4 separate regions of the Homo sapiens genome follow, and all the other regions are linked to region 2. Evidence: promoter capture Hi-C in 16 types of primary human blood cells and fetal thymus (Javierre and others, 2016). All regions are on one chromosome and are shown on one strand. Each heading gives the region's core, a stretch centred on a gene start or on the middle of the fragment in contact. The rest is flanking DNA. Distances are from core to core; before and after follow the strand shown. Region 1 holds the start of CEP57 (centrosomal protein 57). Region 2 holds the start of SLC36A4 (solute carrier family 36 member 4). Region 3 overlaps CHORDC1 (cysteine and histidine rich domain containing 1). Region 4 overlaps LOC124902812 (a long non-coding RNA gene).

Region 1 (3,992 bases), core at 1-2,500, 2.6 Mb after region 2:
TCTCAGCGCGCGAAATCCGCTTTGAACCTGCCCCGCCCAAAGGTCTGCGGTCGCGGCTATTTCTAACAGCCAGTCCCAGGTTTGGCTGAGAGCGCCCCAATCCAATTGAGCAAATGTTCGCGAAAGGCTCGTTCTCTGCCGCAACTTTTTTTCCCTTGCTTTCTATTGGACTAAATCGTTAAGTCCCTCCTAATCCTATTTGTTATTGGCCAAAAGGTAAATACTTCACCTGGAGAGGCGTCCCCGAGGCAAATTCACGCTCTCTCCGGCGTTTAATCCGAGGGAACTCGTGGAGTGCTTTAACTTCGCCTTCGCTTTTGTTTTATCTCCATTACTCCCTTCAGTTGCCACTGGCGACACCACTACTCGCCCACGCTTCTTACTGGAGGAGGCCCGACCCTCCGTAGAATCCCCGCAGAGCCGGCCTGTAACCCCGGCGTTGTCTGCCCCAGCGGGCCCCGTTACGCGCTACCTTGTGACGTCACCAGGGAAGAGGCGGATTCTCTCCTACTACAGAAAGACGTCTGCTGTTTTGATTGGCTAGGAAAGACGTCCGTTAGGACGTGTTGCCCTTTCTGTGTAAGCTGTGAGCGTAGGCGGCCCTGAGGGGGTGTGTTGCAGGGGTTTCCAAGCCCAGCACCAGCACCCTTGCCCTTTTCCATCAGGGGTTCAGCCTAGGGTCCCCGCTGGTGGGCGGCTCCCGAGTCTTGGAGAAGAGCACGAGAACCTAGACCGCCCCCGAAGTGCGGAGACCCCCTGGGCAGGCTGAAAGATGGCGGCGGCGTCTGTCTCTGCGGCTTCTGGTTCTCACTTGTCGGTAAGAAGCAGTTGGCGCGAGTGGGCCCCACGTCGGCCCTAAGCGCCTCTTTGAGTTTCCTCACGTTTCAGGGCGCTGTCAGTCCAGCTTCTGACGCAATTCTGGAGGTCGGCGGGAATGCCTAGATTGCCCCGCGCTCCCCAAGCTTCCATTCACTGTGGCTGTGTCGAAGCTGCACCCTCTGGCTCCCAGTGAAACTGGGCTGGCCGCCCCTGTTCCCCAGCCCTTATTCACCTTTTGGCGTAGCAACCAACCCCGGTTGCCTAACATTCCCAAGGGCCGGCTGGGATAACTGCCCACTCCCTGGCCTGCAAAAATGTAGCTCTTTTGGTCACGTGGGTTCAGCGGCCCCTCTAGGAAACTCGCCAGATCAGGTGAGGCGCGCCAGTGTGTTTAAGAGACGTTGCAGAATAGTAGTCCGCCGTCTCTCGAGCGCTTACTAGTCGTTGCTTATGCTGTTTCCTATCCCTGCAGTGCCTCCCACTCCCATCCACATTAACTTCGTTGTGTGATGCTCGTAGCCAGAACGCGCGCTTCCTGTCACCTAGAATTACTGGAACTTCAATGTGGAAATGCCCTTTTGGAGAGGCGACAGGGGGAATTGATTTTAAATATTGTTTTCGCCTCATCAAATGTCACCATCCAGTTTAGTTACTGGTATTCACTGGTATTTCTCAAATTGGAGTGTCGAATGCTTAGGTTTTTGAAAACCGCGGCATTGGAAAGCTTTGATAGGAAGTAAATGTTGGAGCTCTTATTTCTCCAGTTAGCAAATGTTCGATGCCTGGTATACTGTTAGGGTCCAAATGAACAGAATAGAAACCCTGCTTTGAAGGAGAAAAACACTGAAGAGAAACTACACGTAATTAGTGATTACTGCGCAGTATAGTTTAGGAAGTGCTACCGTAGTAGAATAATCTAGAGGGGAGTGATTAACAGTGCTTGGGTAGGCTAGAGAAGGTTTCCTAGAAGGGAAGATGGAGCTAGTTGCGTGTCGAAGGAATTGTGATTGCTTGTCCCAAGAGTAGAGAAAGGAGAAAAAGGCAGTGCGGGAATTTTGGAGTATGTGCTAGAACAGTAGGTGCTTTTAGGAAACTTGAGATAGTTCGGAATGAGAAGAAGTAATACGGAGGTAGAGCTGGATGAGGTGAATTGGAAACGTAGGTAAAAACGTGAAAAAAGAAGGATGGTGAGGGAAGGAACTAGAAGAGTATCAGGGTAAAGTTATTTTCTAGGATCTAGGGGGAAAGAGTTGGAAACGCTAAGAAAGCCTGGTCACCTTGGAGAAGTCAGTTTCAGCTTTTGGAGACTTGTTAGAATTTGTAATAATGGGACTAGAAGTATTACAGTGTTTCAGCCGAATGGGAATTAGAAGTTTGCAGAGAGGTCTGGGGAAGTTAAGGAGAAGTAAGGAAAGCAGCAATTTAAGGTTATTCAGGATTAGGTCAGTAAAAGAAAAAAGTAAAAAACTATTGGAAGTGTCAGCAGATGGATGAGATTTTATAGGAGATGTGATTAAACTTGGGAGAAGAGGGCTTTTCACGGCTCTCAAAAGTTAAGCACTTGGAGACCGAACAAGGAATACTCTTACAAATGTTGAATTGAGTCTGGGTGCGTGGCTCATGCCTGTAATACCAGCTACTAGTGAGGCTGAGGCGGGAGGATCACTGAGGCTGAAGTGAGGTATGATAGTGCCACTGCTCTCCAGCCTGGGCGACAGAGCGACCCTGTCTCCATAAAATAAAATATTAAATAAACGTTTAATTGAGCTGCACTATGCCAAGGACACCTAGGTGAGCATTGGCACTGGGATATAGTCAGCTGTTAATACTTATACGGTACCCTTGACAGAAATACCAAAGACTGTTCATTAGGAAAGCATATTTTTTTTGTGCTAAGCTCAGCTTTAATAGGATTCTAAATATCAAGGGTACACTAAGAATATCTAGGAACCTCCACAAATCAAAGTATAACAACCATAACTCAATCTGCTACATCAAAATGTCTATTTTGGAAGTTACTGTTTCTCAAAACAAAAATGACTAAATTTAGTTGGTTTCTTGGTGCGTAAGAAAACGTCCTGCTTAGATGTCCCATCAGAAATAAGGCTGCCATTTCCAACAGCGTTGGAAAAGCACTTAGCTTATCAAACAGCTGATCTTAACAGTAGGCAACATTTAAAAAAAAAAAAACTTGTTAAAACTATACCATGAACTGAGAACACAACTCGTATTCAGATTTCACGGTTATGAAGATTAACAACTGTTATATTCAACTGTTTTCGACATTGATAAACTCATACGGAGCTAGTTATAAGTACATTGAGATGCTTTACAGGCAAAGATTTTTAACAAGTAGATTCATAAATAACCGTCTTTGGGAAGCAGTGACCATGTAAATCTCAAATGTGAACAGCATGGAAGTAGGGCGATAGGTTTCAGTTAGGTTCTAGGTAACGTTTATTGAGTGATTGCTCTGGAATTGATAAACTTCGACTGGTGGAAAAGGCAGGAAAGCAACTATGATTGGGCATAATGAAATTAATTCCATATGGAGGTATGGGCAGCATTGTGTTGAAATACACAAGAATGTCTTTCATGTCAGCCTTGTAATATTTTCACAATAACCTTGGTGATTAATGACCTAATCTCTTGATTTGTCCCTCTGACTTTTGGTCCTTCGACCAAGCTGCACAGTAGCTCCATATTAATTTCCCTTAAAAATGTTTTATGGCTATCATACATTTTATAATATTAAATATAAGATTTACTTTTTGAGAATAATAAAATGAATACCTTCATGTTCCTCTGTGTCTTCTTTCTCCTTCCCACACCCACCCACTACCACGTATTTTAAGATTATAATGTATGGTATTTATATAGGACTACCTGGCAAGGCATAATCCTTAAAGACCCTTTTCATGCATTAACTCATTTAATCCTCACAATAACCTTCTGAGATTGGCATTAATATTTCCTTTTTCAAATGAGCAAAATGAGGCACAGAGAGGTTGAGTCAAAGTTCTCTAGCTAGTAAATGACAGTATCTTAATGGGCTTTGGATTTAATGGGTTTTGCTGTTCATTTGTTTGCCAGATATTAGAAACAATCTTGTATTCATTGTTATATGCTGTACATGGCAAATGTTTCTCTAGAGTGCAGTTCTCGAAGTATGG
Region 2 (4,132 bases), core at 1,113-3,612:
CCCTTCCCTCAGGGTAAAAGTCACAGTTTACATTACCTACAAGACCCTACATAATTTGGCCCCATCGCCACCTCCATCACTCTGCTTCAGCCACTTTGTCCTCCTTGCTATTCCTTTAGTTATTCTTTCTGCCTGGAGTAGTCGTTCCCCAGATATCCATTTGGCTAATTTCCTTACCTCTTCCAGGTCTTTACTCAAATTGTACCTTTTCAATAAGGCCCATCCCAACCATTTTATAAAATACTGTAAACTGCCTAGCCCCCACCCTCATTCCTGATTTCCCTTACCCTGCTCTTGTTTTCCATAGCACTTTTCACCTAACATACTATATAATTAACTGGTTATTGTCTTTACTGCTTACTCTCTGCTTCCCATTACTAAATACAAGCTCCATTAAGAACAGGAATTTTTATCTGTTTTGCTCACGATGTATCTCAAGTGCCTAGGGGAAGCTCAATGAATATGTGTTGAATTAATGAAAATATAAAACTTAAAAAAACTGAAATAATTTGAAACTTTTTTTCAGTTAAAGAAAATGTACATGCTGAACATCTTTCCACATCACTTTTAATGGTAGGCAATGTAAAACTATACCACAATTTAACCAATTTCCTTTCATTGTACTTTAGTTAACAGCTTTTCTCTATATACTATAATGAAAACCTCTTGATATAAGTATGGGTTACATTACTTATTTCCTCGGGAAATATTCTGAAGGAGAATTGCTGGGTCAAACGATAAGCACTTTTTTTTTTTGAGACAGAGTCTCGCTCTGTTGCCCAGGCTGGAGTGCAGTGGCACGATCTCGGCTCACGGCAAGCTCCGCCTCCCGGGTTCACGCCATTCTCCTGCCTCAGCCACCCGAGTAGCTGGGACTACAGGCGCCCGCCACCACGCCCGGCTAATTTTTTGTGTTTTTAGTAGAGACGGGGTTTCACCGTGTTAGCCAGGATGGTCTCCATCTCCTGACCTTGTGATGATCCGGCCGCCTCAGCCTCCCAAAGTGCTGGGATTACAGGCGTGAGCCACCGCGCCAGGCCGATATGTACATTTTTAAGGCTAAATATATTATCCCTTTCCTGCCAGCAATGCATGAGAATACCCATTTCTCCATATCCTCACTAAGACAGGTTATTAATGAATGAAACCTGAGTTCACATTTGGGTTCTGCCATTAATAAGCTTAAAATTACTGTATCTATAAAATGGAAATCATGATAGCACCTATCTCAGTTGCTGTGAGGATTAAAGACAATGCATAGGTAAAGCACTTAGCACAGTGTTTGCACACAGTAAGCACGCAATAAAATGTTAAGTTTATTGTTTCTACCATTATTACGGCCTGAAAACAATTCCATTGCAAAGTGCCCTGCAGGCTATTAGAGGAATAACAACAACCTATCAGTTACTTATAATACGGTATTTTTTAAAGTTCAACGGTTTTCTTGAAGATTCCATTTAGATTTAATTTTTTAATTACATTTAATCAGCATCGAATGAAAAATACTCCCAAGTACAGTACGTATAACTGGGAGAGCGATCATTTTACCACCCTGATCCTTACTTTTTTATTTTGGACAGCGGGAAACCGTAAACAAACACGCCCTGTCGCCAAGAAACAAGATGGGAGGAAAGCAGCAAAAAACAAACAAACTTTGCCAAGTGAGCAAGCTACAGGTATCTCCTGTTCATTCTGGTCAGCACGACCTGTTCGAAACTCTGGGATAACAAGGAGTAAAATGAGGATTCATCTGGAGATTCCGAATGGGGCTGCAGCATTTGAAAAGCAGAACAATGATAACTTCCTTAAAGCATCATTGGGAAAAAAACCGTGAGTCACGGCGCAGGCTCTTGCGTCTTTGACGTGTACCCACAGGGCCCCGCCCCACTCAACACACACACTCACCCACACGCGCGCGCGCAAACACACACACACATATTTTAACGCCCTATTCAGGCCTGGGCTTCGTCTGACCAAGTTCTCGGGGTCAGATAACCGGTTCCTTTGCGGATGCTGACCACGGGGTCAGTTAGCAATCGGGCCTCAACTCAGGCCAAGCGCGGGGCCCCTGGAGGTGTGGGCGCACCCGACTCCCGCACAGACCCCCGCCCACGTCAGCCCCGGCTCCCTGCCCACGCACAACACCGACCTAGCTCCTCGCGCCTCGCCGCCCCGGCAGCCGCCGGCGTCGCCGCCGCTTCCATCTCTCGCGGGTCTCCAGGACGCCGCCGCCCGAGTGCTCACTCTCCCGCCGCTGCGTGGCCGGCGTCAGGCCCAGGCCTACCTCCCCTGCCCGGAGGGACCCGCGCCTGGTGCCCGCCTCCCTGCCCCGGCGCTCCCCAACCGCGCGGCGAGGAGCATGCGCAGTGGGACAGCCCGGCTCGGCGGGCACCGCCGGCGAGGGGCGGGAGGGGCCGAAGACCCGAGGACTGCTGCGAGGCCGGGTTGGGTAACCCGAGAGGAGGGTTGGGTAACCTGAGATCAGCGAGGGTGGGACCTTAGAGCTAGCCGAGACCCGGGCCCATAGCTCCCTGGGGGTTTTAAAGATGACGGCGAACTTAAATTTGGGGCGCCTGTCCGTATGCAAGGCGTTAGCGTTCTGTAAGTCACCTTGGAGAATGCGAAGAAGGACGGGATTTGTCCCCTACCCATGCTGAGGTTCTGACTACTCTGGTTATTCGTCTCCCTGTTTCTATAGTTAGAGTTACAGGAGACACTTAAATAGAATTTAATTAAGTCATATACAATTTCACTTTCAGGATATTTCAATGTCCTTCCAGATATTTGACGTTGACCGTGGTGCTGAAAGAAAATTAAGGTAAAGACTAAGTGTACTGATGTAGTTTCAAGTACTCCTAAGCACCATACATACATTATCTTTAATTCTGACTACAATTTGTGAGATAATTCTAATATTTACATTAACGCTAAAGATGAAGGGATTAAGGCACGGAGGTAAGTAACGTGTCTGGGGACAGGAAGCTTGTACATGGCAGAAGTAGAATCCTTCTGCCTTCAGAGCTGGAGCTCTCGAAAAATATGCAAAGCTGGCCTCCCAGATGGGTACCAATGAATATTCGATGAATCAATGGATGAAGCAAGCTTTTGGTTTAAAAGGAAAATATTTATTTTAATTTTAAAATCGCTTTCTTTTTTTTTTCACTTCATAGTTCTTGGAAGTCAGTACACCAGACAATCCTTTTTATTTGTGTCCGTTTCATTCAGTGGGGTTGCTTTAGGAAAGGGTTTTTTTGGGGGGGAGTGGGTCTGATTAACAGTCACTGATGTAACTATATGGCAATGGTGTTAAATATTTAAAATTCTGAGATTAAAAAGGTACGCAGTTACATACTATCTACATCTTTCCTCCTGTTGCATCCTCTGTAGGCTTTCACTAGATAACTAGTGATAATGACAGTTTGCCAACCCCCTTTCTTTTCCTTTAAGTGAACCCAATTTGTTCACATACATACACATGCAAATCCCAAAAGAAGGTTTTATTTGAAGTGTTCCTGACAAATAAAGGGGTAAAGGAGATTTTTTTTAAAAAAGAAGAAGAAGAAGAAATCTATTCTGGAACATAGCTAGAGCAATGTTCCCTAACCTGTGTTGGGGTGGATCACCTGGTTAAAGATCAGCAGGAGAGAAGATAGGCATCAGACAGAAATTATAGGACCAAGGTAATTTTCCATAAACCACTCATTATAATGAGAACATGTGGGACAGCATCTTAAAAGAACATTATCCTTTGAGAGTTAAAAGGGATCAAAAGTCATTGTCCCCTAATCTCAGCTTCAGGGAAAGCAGATCTGGCAATATGGAAGGAAGAAAAGTTTGACTTGTAGTATAGGCCTGAAATCTTTTGAAGAGGGTTGGGCTGAGGTAGGAGGCCCAATGTCTTTACAGTGATGTGGAGATAAAGCAAGTGATAACAATGATCATAAGATTCAAGAGAAATATGTTTTTCATGCATCTCTACTTGAGAACATATTTACTAGGACTTCTACTCCAGGTCTTATAAATTAGAAGCAGATATAAAGTACAGCTGTATCAAAATAGAGACATTATACAGAATGTGACAATTTGAACCCTGGAAATTCATTTCTTTTCCTGACTTTAACTTCTTGCATCA
Region 3 (4,211 bases), core at 278-2,777, 3.0 Mb before region 2:
CCTATTTATATGCAGTAAACTACTATTCTCTCTTTTGGATAACTGCTTAACTGTACCAGAAAATAATTAACAATAAAACAAAATAAAATCTTACCTTTCTTATTTTCTTCATTCCCTGATGACAGTTTAAGTTTATCAAGTGCTTGTTTTAGGGAGGCAGATATTTTTAATTCCAAATTTGTCATTGGTTCATCTGGGCTGGAGAATTTTGAAACCTTATTACCATTATTAATATACCAAAATATTTCTTTGTACTCCAAATTAATAACCTTAAAAGCTTTCTGAGAAGCCAAATGCTTTGTGTATCAAATGATTCCCATTAAAAGGTTAAAAGGTATTTTATAAATAATTGTTACAATGTATCTACATTCTGTCTTAACAGAAAAGCTCCTTATATTAGAATAGTAAGTCTCAAATAATCACGCTATTGTCAGCATATTTAAGTATTAATCAGTTGCACTAACGAGAAAGGAATAAAGACTAGGAATCCAAGGTTTTCAAGATGAGTAATGCTGAGGAAGGGACCATAATGTACTTTTACATCCCATGCCCAAGCTCAATGCTGAGCACATAATAAACATGAAATATAAGTAAGTTCTAAGTGAATCCATACTCACTTCTACCAGTGGAGATAATTTATGTGGACACTGGCATATGGATCTGTAAATTCAGATACGATCGTATTGCAAGGCAATTTCAGTAGGGTTTAAAAAACAACATCTTCTAACATTTCATAATGGCTAAGTGTTGTATACATAATTTAAGTCCACTCAATAAATAAGTATTAAACATATTAATAAACACAGCAATAAAAATAAAAATCGTAGGCTATTCATTCTATATCCTCGATGAAAAAACTGACAAAAGAGGCATTTTAAAAGTACATAGGCAAGGCATGGTCGCTTATGCCCATAATCCCAACACTTTGGGAGGCTGAGGCAAGAGGACTGCTTGAAGCCTGGGCAACAAAGTGGAACCCTGTCTCCGCAAAATAATAAAAAATATTAGTCGGTCACTGATATGGTTTCCCTGTGTCACCAACCAAATCTCATCTTGAATTCTAGCTCCCCTAATCTCCACATGGTGTGTGACAGACCTAGTGGGAGGTAACTGGATCATGGGGATGCCTTTTTCCCATGCTGTTCTCATGATAGTGAATAAGTCTCAGAAGTTCTGATGGTTTTTTTCTTGCCTGCCACCATGTAAAACATTCCTTTATTACTCGCTCTACCTTCTGCCATGATTGTGAGGCCTCCCCAGCCATATGGAACTGTGAGTTCATTAAACCTCTTTTTCTTTATAAATCACTTAGTCTCGGGTGTTTCTTCGTAACTGTGAAAATGGACTAATACAGTCATAGTAGCATACACCTATAGTTCCGGGGAGGGTTAGGGAGGAGGATGGCTTGAGCCCAGGAGTTAAAGGCTGCAGTGAGCTATAATGCCACTGCATTACAGCCTGGGTAAGAGAGGGACTTTTCTTCTTAAAAAAAAGAAAAGTATGTAAAAACTGATATCCTCATAATTGTTATAATACCACCAAATGAATTTAGGATAAAATATTTAGTTTTTCTCATCTCACTGCCTTTGTCCTTTTTTTTCAAAAAGTCAATCTCAAGATCCTCCTGCCTCAGCCTGAGTAGCTGCAACTACATGAGCACACCACCAAACCCAGCTAATTTATTTTTTTTGGAGAGACAGGATCTCTTTCAGATTGGTTCTCAAACTCCTAGGCTCAAAGGATCCTCCCTCCTAGGCTTCTCAAAGTGCTGGATTATGGGCTTGAGCCACAGTGCCTGGCCTCTCACTGCCCTTTAAGTAAAATAACAGCCCATCATTTAAAGAAAAAATTAACTCATACTATTATAGTACAGACTGTATTATATTACTAAAGAGATTAAGAATGAGCCATGACTGAAGTTTTGTCTTTTCCCAATTATTTTTCTAACTGCTAAACTGGCCAAAGCATTCAATGGTCTCCTCTAACTATGAAGATGGAGAGAGAATAAAATCATCCTGAGTAGTTTCCTTAGCAATAATCTGTACTCAGAGTGCTAATGAACAAATAAACATCTAAAGTCTCTTAGGGTTCTTATCTTGGTTCTATATTATTCAATACTCTATAAATTTATTTAAGTAGGATCAAAGGAGAATAAAGGGAAAATCATGAGTTCATAGCATGAATAAAAATTACAATAAGTGCCTACTTGCAGCCAAAAAAAAAAAAAAAAATCACCTTTTTTTAAGTCCTGTAGTTTGCTTCTAAAACAATTTAGTACTCAAGTGTAGCACGAAGAAGACCTGGTTCAACAAAGGTACTCAATATACATGTGTGGGAATACAGAGTCTGGTTATCAGAAGGCAAGTATGAAGAATCTGTACAACTCTATTGCACAATGAGCAAACGCTTTTTTAAGACTACTTTCACAAATATGTCATCTAAATCAAATGCATTAAAAATTGACCAGTAGTAATGAGATTAACGGTAGTTTTCAGGCATCTGAAAGTAAAGATGGATGATTAGGCCTCTGCATTATTTTCTACTTCAAACTCATGCCATGAAAAGGAAAACTGCTTCAAAGAATTTTACCATGCCACAGTGAAAAAGATGCACTCTAAGGCACAAGAAAAATGTGACTTCCCTACCCTGATGATACATGTCCCTGTAATTATGACAGTACAATATGCAAATCTGTTATGTAGTTATATTGTGTACATGCTCTCAAGTTGAAGAGAAATAAAAATTTAAGGCAGATTTAAGGGAGAAACCAAATGGTTCAAAGCTTGGTGGCCTACATAGTAGCTACAAATGGTATCATGCTAAATCATAAAGGAAAGTACCATGCACAAGTGCTACTATTCAAGTGTGACAAAAATATGTAACTGTATAAAGTATACCTTGGTCTTTTTATTGCTTCTACTGGCTTAGGGGCTTGAATGATGTGTTCCTGAAATTTGGGTTTTAATTCACATAGCTCCTTCTTCTCAGTAGTCTTGACTTCAGGTTTGACTGGCTCAGGTGGCTTCTCACTATTATGTCTACCTTTTGTACAGCCCTGTTAGTGAAAGATAATTCATTAAGAGCTATCTATTTTACATTTCATGATAGAAATATTATCTTTTCAGTTCTTTATTGATAGTGATTCTATTTCATGTTTTCTCCAGTTTCAATACATTGATTTTAAGAAATTAAAAACAGAACTCCAAATTTGCCATATTTGCTGAATCTCTGAATGACGGCTTTTTTAAAAAGTCTTTGAATTACACTTCATAAACATCTACTTATTCTATTAAAAATATGGCATAAACCTCTTGTTTACAGAAGAATTCTGGAGAATCTCACAAAGAACTGTAAAAAATAGTTATACAGAAAAATCTGTTACTCGAAAGGCCTCAATTTGAGACCTAGTTCTCAACATACTTATTAGTTATATGACCTTAAGCAAGATAATCTTTTTAAACCTCCATCTCCTCATTTGTAAAATGGAGGTAATGTCAGGTAAGATATTTTCTGAGAGAGTTAAATAATAAAATGCCTGGCACATTTGGCAGGTGATAACATTCAACAAACGTTAGCTACTTTTCTACTACATTCTACTGAATTATACATACTCTTTAACACCTCTGAAATGATACAATCAATAGCATTATCAGTTTGTTAGTAGCTTTAGTTTTCTTAGTGGTATATAAAGTGGTTTTATATAAAAGTGGTATGTAAAATATTTCAACAGCATCTTAGATAAAACTTTATCGTTCCTAACTGAAAAGGCTTTAAATTGTTGCTTACCACTTTCTCCTTGATGTTCTTTCAACATAACAGAAAGAACAAACCTAAAATGATAAGCAGGTAACTGATACCTTAAAACGTTAATTTCCAAAACAGATTCTTTATTTTACAAGCTGTGGAAGGGAGATGAGCTGCTTTTTGAAAGGTGTTATCTGCAAGTTGATGAAGACCAATCAATCTATATCAGAAATCAGACTCCTCAAATCTGAAGCTTTCTATAACATGTATTTTTAGGAAGATAATCTAGAAAAAATAATTAGTACTTACTACAATGCTTAAGAAATCAGAAAAATCAGTTGTTCTTCTCTTACAGCAAGACCAACCCTATGAAAAACAAGAGAAGGAAACTAAAAACTCTATTTGCATGAGAAACACGACCCACTAAAACACTCTACTTGCACTTATCTACTTGAATCCTGCAGTAA
Region 4 (4,355 bases), core at 1,732-4,231, 3.0 Mb before region 2:
AAAATGTAAATACATACTCATTTTTGATATAGTTAACATTATGAAGAGGACAAAAAACCAACTTAACAATGACTATTTTTATTTGTTCTACTTTATTCGAAAGATGAAAATTTCATCCATTATGATTGTGTGTTGAGCAGTTTGTGGTTTCTGTATTTTGAACATATATTATTCATCCTATAAAGGTGCATGTCTTTCGTATTTACATAGTTTATGTTTTTAATATAAAATGACCTTCTTTGTATCATTTTGTATTTTTGTCTTGAAACCTACTTTGATATTAATGCTTCAACTTTTGCTATGTTTCTCTTTGTTTTTGCCTAATAAACCTCACCCTATCCATTTATATTTAACCTGTGTCATCTTGTTTTGGGCATATCTGCTGTAAGCAGCAGATAGATTGCATCTTGTTTTTCTTTTTTTAACTCAAATCCGAGAATCTTTTTATTTTGCAGAGAAGCTTAACCTTTTTATTTCTGATTAATGCTTGAAAGTTCAGGTGCCAAAGTGGCCCAGAACTTATTAATGGTTTTATAAGTCAATTAACGTCAATAAGCCTGAGTTTTCTTATCTGTAAAACATTGATAACAGAGTGCTGTGAAGATTAAGTTAAACAATGCATGTAAAACATATAGTCTAGTGTAAGCACTGAATGATAATTTCACAAAAGTTTAGCAATGAAAATGGTCAACTTAGATGTTTAGTCCTATTTGGTTATTTCACTTTTGTTTTCCCTTTTATATGCAGTTGTGTCTGCTTCCTTGCTTTTATTTTATTCTATTTTCTAAATAAAGTATGTGCTTGCTTTTTTATTTTGTCCACGATTTAAAAAAAAAATATATATATAGGTTTTAATTTATTTCAGCATGTATTAAGTAGTTAATGTGTGTTGGTACATTAGATGCAGGATACAGTGGTGAACTGAAGTGACATTTTACCTGTCTTCGTTGTATTTGAATTTTATAAGAAAGACGGATGTGAATCAAATATTCCCAATTATGAATTCAATCACTGATAATTGCCATAAATGCTATGAATGGGAAGTACGTTATGCTAAGTTAGTGGAGATGGGAATTTGCCTAATCTTGAGTTGGAGTGCAGGCATAGGTGTTAGTCTAAACAGAAGTCCTGCAATGGAAGGTAGTATAACATTAAAGAAAGCACAGAATCATCGAGGTAAACCAATGCTCAGAAATAAGGGATACCAGATGTATTAGGACATTCTTGCATTGCTATGAAGAAATACCCAAGACTGGATAATTTATAAGAAAAGAGGGTTTAATTGGCTCACATTTCTGCAGGCTATACAGGAAGGGCTCAGGAAGCTTTAACTCATGGCAGAAGGCAAAATGAGAGCTTGTACTTCACATGGTAAATGCAGGAGCAAGTGGTGGGGGAGGTGCCACACACTTTTAAATGATCAGATCTCATGTGAACTCAACTGGAGAACTCACTCATCACCCAGGGGATGGCCCAAGCCATTCATGAGAGATGCGCCCCCATGACCCAAATACCTCCCACCAGGCCCCATCTCCAAGATTGGGGATTACATTTCAACATGAGATTTGGGCAGGGAAAACTATCCAAACTATATAATTCTTCTCCTGGCCCCTCCCAAATCTCATGTCCTCACATTGCAAAATAGAATCATACTTTCTCAGCAATCCCCTAAAATCTTGACCTTTGCCAGATTTAACTCAAAAGTCCAAAGTTTCATCTGAGACAAGACAAATCCCTTCCACCTATGAGCCTGTAAAATAAACAAGTTAGTTACTTCCAAGATACAATAGGTATGTATAGGCATTGGGTAAACATTCCCATTCCAAAAGGGAGAAATTGGCTAAAAGAAAGGGGCTATAGGCTCCATGCAAGGCAAAACCCAAGCAGGCCGTCATTAAATCTTAAAGCTCCAATGTAATCCCCTTTGACTCTATGTTCCACATCCAGGGCACACTGGTGCAAGGAGAGGGCTCCCAAGGCCTTGGGCAGCCCTACCCCTATACCTTTGCAGAGTACAACTCCCCCAACTGCTCTCATGGGCTGGGATTGAGTGCCTGTGGATTTTCCAGGTACAGAGTACAAGCTGCTAATAGATCTACCATTCTCAGGTCTGAAGGATGGTGGCCCTCTTCTCACAGTTCTACTAGCCAGTGCTCATTAGAGACTTTGTGTGGAGGCTCCAGCCCCATATTTTCCCCTCCACATTGCCCTAGTAGAAGTTGTCTGTGAGGGTTCTGCCCCTGCAGCAGGCTTCTGCCTATACATCCAGGCTTTTTCATGCATCCTCTGAAACCCTCACAGAAGCTTCCAAACCTCAGCTCTGGCACTCTGTACATCCACAGGCTTAACATCTCATGTAAGCCATGTAAGCTTATGGCTTGCATCCTTCAAAGTGGCAGCCCGAGCTGTACCTGGACCCTGTTGAGCCATAGCTGGAACTGGAGTGGCTGGGATGTGGGGAGAGTAGTTTGCCAAGGGCTCGGCCCATGAAACCATTCTTCCCTCCTAAGGCCTCTGATGGGAGGGGCTGCCATGAAGTTCGCTGAAATGACTTCAAGTTGTTTTCCCCATTGTCTTGAATAGTAGCACTTGGCTCCCTTTTAGTTATGCCAATGTATCTAGCAGGTGGTTGCTCCACAGCCTGCTTGAATTCCTCTCTACAAAAAAGCTTTTTCTTTCTCTGCCATATGGCTAGGCTGCAAAATTTCCAAACTTTTATGCTCTGTTTCCTGTTTAAATATAAATTTCTACTTTAAGCCATTTCCTTGCTTCTGTATCTAAGCAAAGGTTGTTAGAAACAGCCAGGCCACATCTTGGGCACTTTGCTGCTTAGAAATTTCTTCTGTTAAATACCCTAGGTTATCACTCTCAAGTTCAGATTTCCTCAGATACCCAGGGCATGAACAGAATGCAGCCAAACTCTTTCCTATGGCATAACATGTGTGACCTTTGCTCCAGTTCCCAATAAGTTCCTCGTTTTCATCTCAGATCTAGTCAGCCTGGATTTCATTTTCCATATCACTATCAGCATTTTGGTCACAATCATTTAAGCAGTCTCTAAGAAGTTGCACACTTACTCTCATCTTCCTGTCTTCTCTAGAAAGACATACTCCACGTGATCCTAACCTCTGGCCATTATCCAATTTCCAAGCTGTTTCTACATTTTCAGGTATCTTTATAGTAATACTCCACTCTGAGTACTAATTTTCTGTATTAGGTCATTTTTGCATTACTATAAAGAAATGCCTGAGACTAGGTAATTTATAAGAAAAGATTTAATTTGCTTATGGTTCTGCAAGCTTTACAGGAAGCGTAATTTCTGGTGAGGCTTCAGGAAGTTTTACTCATGGTAGAAGGCAAAGCAGGAGCTTGCACTTCACATGGCAAAAGCAGGGAAAGAGAGAGAGAGTTGGGGAGGGGAGGTTCCACAGACTTTTAAATGACCACCAGATCTCAGAGCAAGAGCTCACCTATCACCAAGGGAATGGCCCAAGCCATTCATGAAGGATGGACTCCCATAATCCAAACACCTCCCACCAGGCCTCACCTTCAAGACTGGGGATTATATTTCAACATGAGATTTGGATGGGGGCGAATATCTAAACTATAACACCATCTGAGGCTGGAAAGGTAGACAGAGGCCCAACAACACAGGCAGCCTGAGAGGCAGCTGTAAGGATGATTAAAAGGCTTTTATCCTTAGGGCAAAGAGGAATAATTGAAAGGAGTTTTCCATTAATGTGATTTTTCCAGAAATCTCAAAATTAACTGAAGGCATGCAATAATCCAAAGAGCCCTTATTCAACAAAAGTGCTAAATATTGGTAAGAACAACAAATTGTGTGACATTTTAATTTCCCTATTTCCATTCTCTTCTTTATACCTAAATGGTAGGTATAAAATCCAGCAGCCTCTCAACAATAGGTATGTAAAGTGGAATTCTAGAAGCTACAAGAGGAGGCAGAATGGCATTGTCTAAGCATTGACCCATCTGACAGCTCCTTGGAAAAGCTCAATTTTTAAGGCTTGTGATCGTTTTGACTTACTGAAAGCTTGTTGATTGGGAAAAATCTTGTTTCTAGGACATTTGCTGAAAACAATCAAAAGTGATTGTTTAACATGGCAGCTGCCTGAGGAGACTATACGAGTTGAGGCCAATAAGAAGCTGGCCAATAAAAATGTAAATGGAAGAGTTTATGAGTGAGATAACACCAGAATCTTTGAACAACACTGACATATTCCTAAGGAATGTGAAGAAAGCCACATCCATGAGTAGGGCTGTGTCCATGTAAAAGAATGATCTGAGAAAGTTCCATCCTCTCATCTCTACTTGAACTTTAGGTCCTTTGAAGCAGG

What was found. The method cuts DNA at HindIII sites, captures the fragments that hold promoters and counts their contacts. A CHiCAGO score of 5 or more calls a contact.
Region 1: a fragment that was not itself captured here is called in contact with the fragment with the promoter of SLC36A4 in region 2 in 1 of 17 cell types (fetal thymus); the score reaches 5.1 in fetal thymus.
Region 3: a fragment that was not itself captured here is called in contact with the fragment with the promoter of SLC36A4 in region 2 in 8 of 17 cell types (naive B cells, naive CD4 T cells, naive CD8 T cells and 5 more); the score reaches 13.9 in naive B cells.
Region 4: a fragment that was not itself captured here is called in contact with the fragment with the promoter of SLC36A4 in region 2 in 3 of 17 cell types (total CD8 T cells, total B cells and non-activated CD4 T cells); the score reaches 6.3 in total CD8 T cells.

What each region holds. Positions count from the first base shown.
Region 1 is chr11:95,789,927-95,793,918 of GRCh38, forward strand. It overlaps CEP57 (centrosomal protein 57), which reads left to right and starts at 572. Exons shown (of 11, transcript NM_014679.5): 1 at 572-817. The coding sequence starts at 773. RefSeq lists enhancers at 384-853, 817-1,480. The HindIII fragment of the contact is 581 bases long and covers 961-1,541 here.
Region 2 is chr11:93,195,629-93,199,760 of GRCh38, forward strand. SLC36A4 (solute carrier family 36 member 4) reads right to left here and starts at 2,363. Exons shown (of 11, transcript NM_152313.4): 1 at 2,150-2,363. The coding sequence starts at 2,204. RefSeq lists a silencer at 2,125-2,504. The HindIII fragment of the contact is 1,801 bases long and covers 1,180-2,980 here.
Region 3 is chr11:90,211,121-90,215,331 of GRCh38, forward strand. It overlaps CHORDC1 (cysteine and histidine rich domain containing 1), which reads right to left. Exons shown (of 11, transcript NM_012124.3): 3 at 4,054-4,110; 4 at 2,898-3,055; 5 at 95-198. Among named protein-coding and RNA genes, the nearest start is that of CHORDC1, 9.8 kb to the right of the region's middle. The HindIII fragment of the contact is 2,505 bases long and covers 276-2,780 here.
Region 4 is chr11:90,225,730-90,230,084 of GRCh38, forward strand. The region is part of intron 1 of LOC124902812 (a long non-coding RNA gene); the gene reads left to right. Among named protein-coding and RNA genes, the nearest start is that of CHORDC1, 4.9 kb to the left of the region's middle. RefSeq lists an enhancer at 2,311-2,817. The HindIII fragment of the contact is 631 bases long and covers 2,667-3,297 here.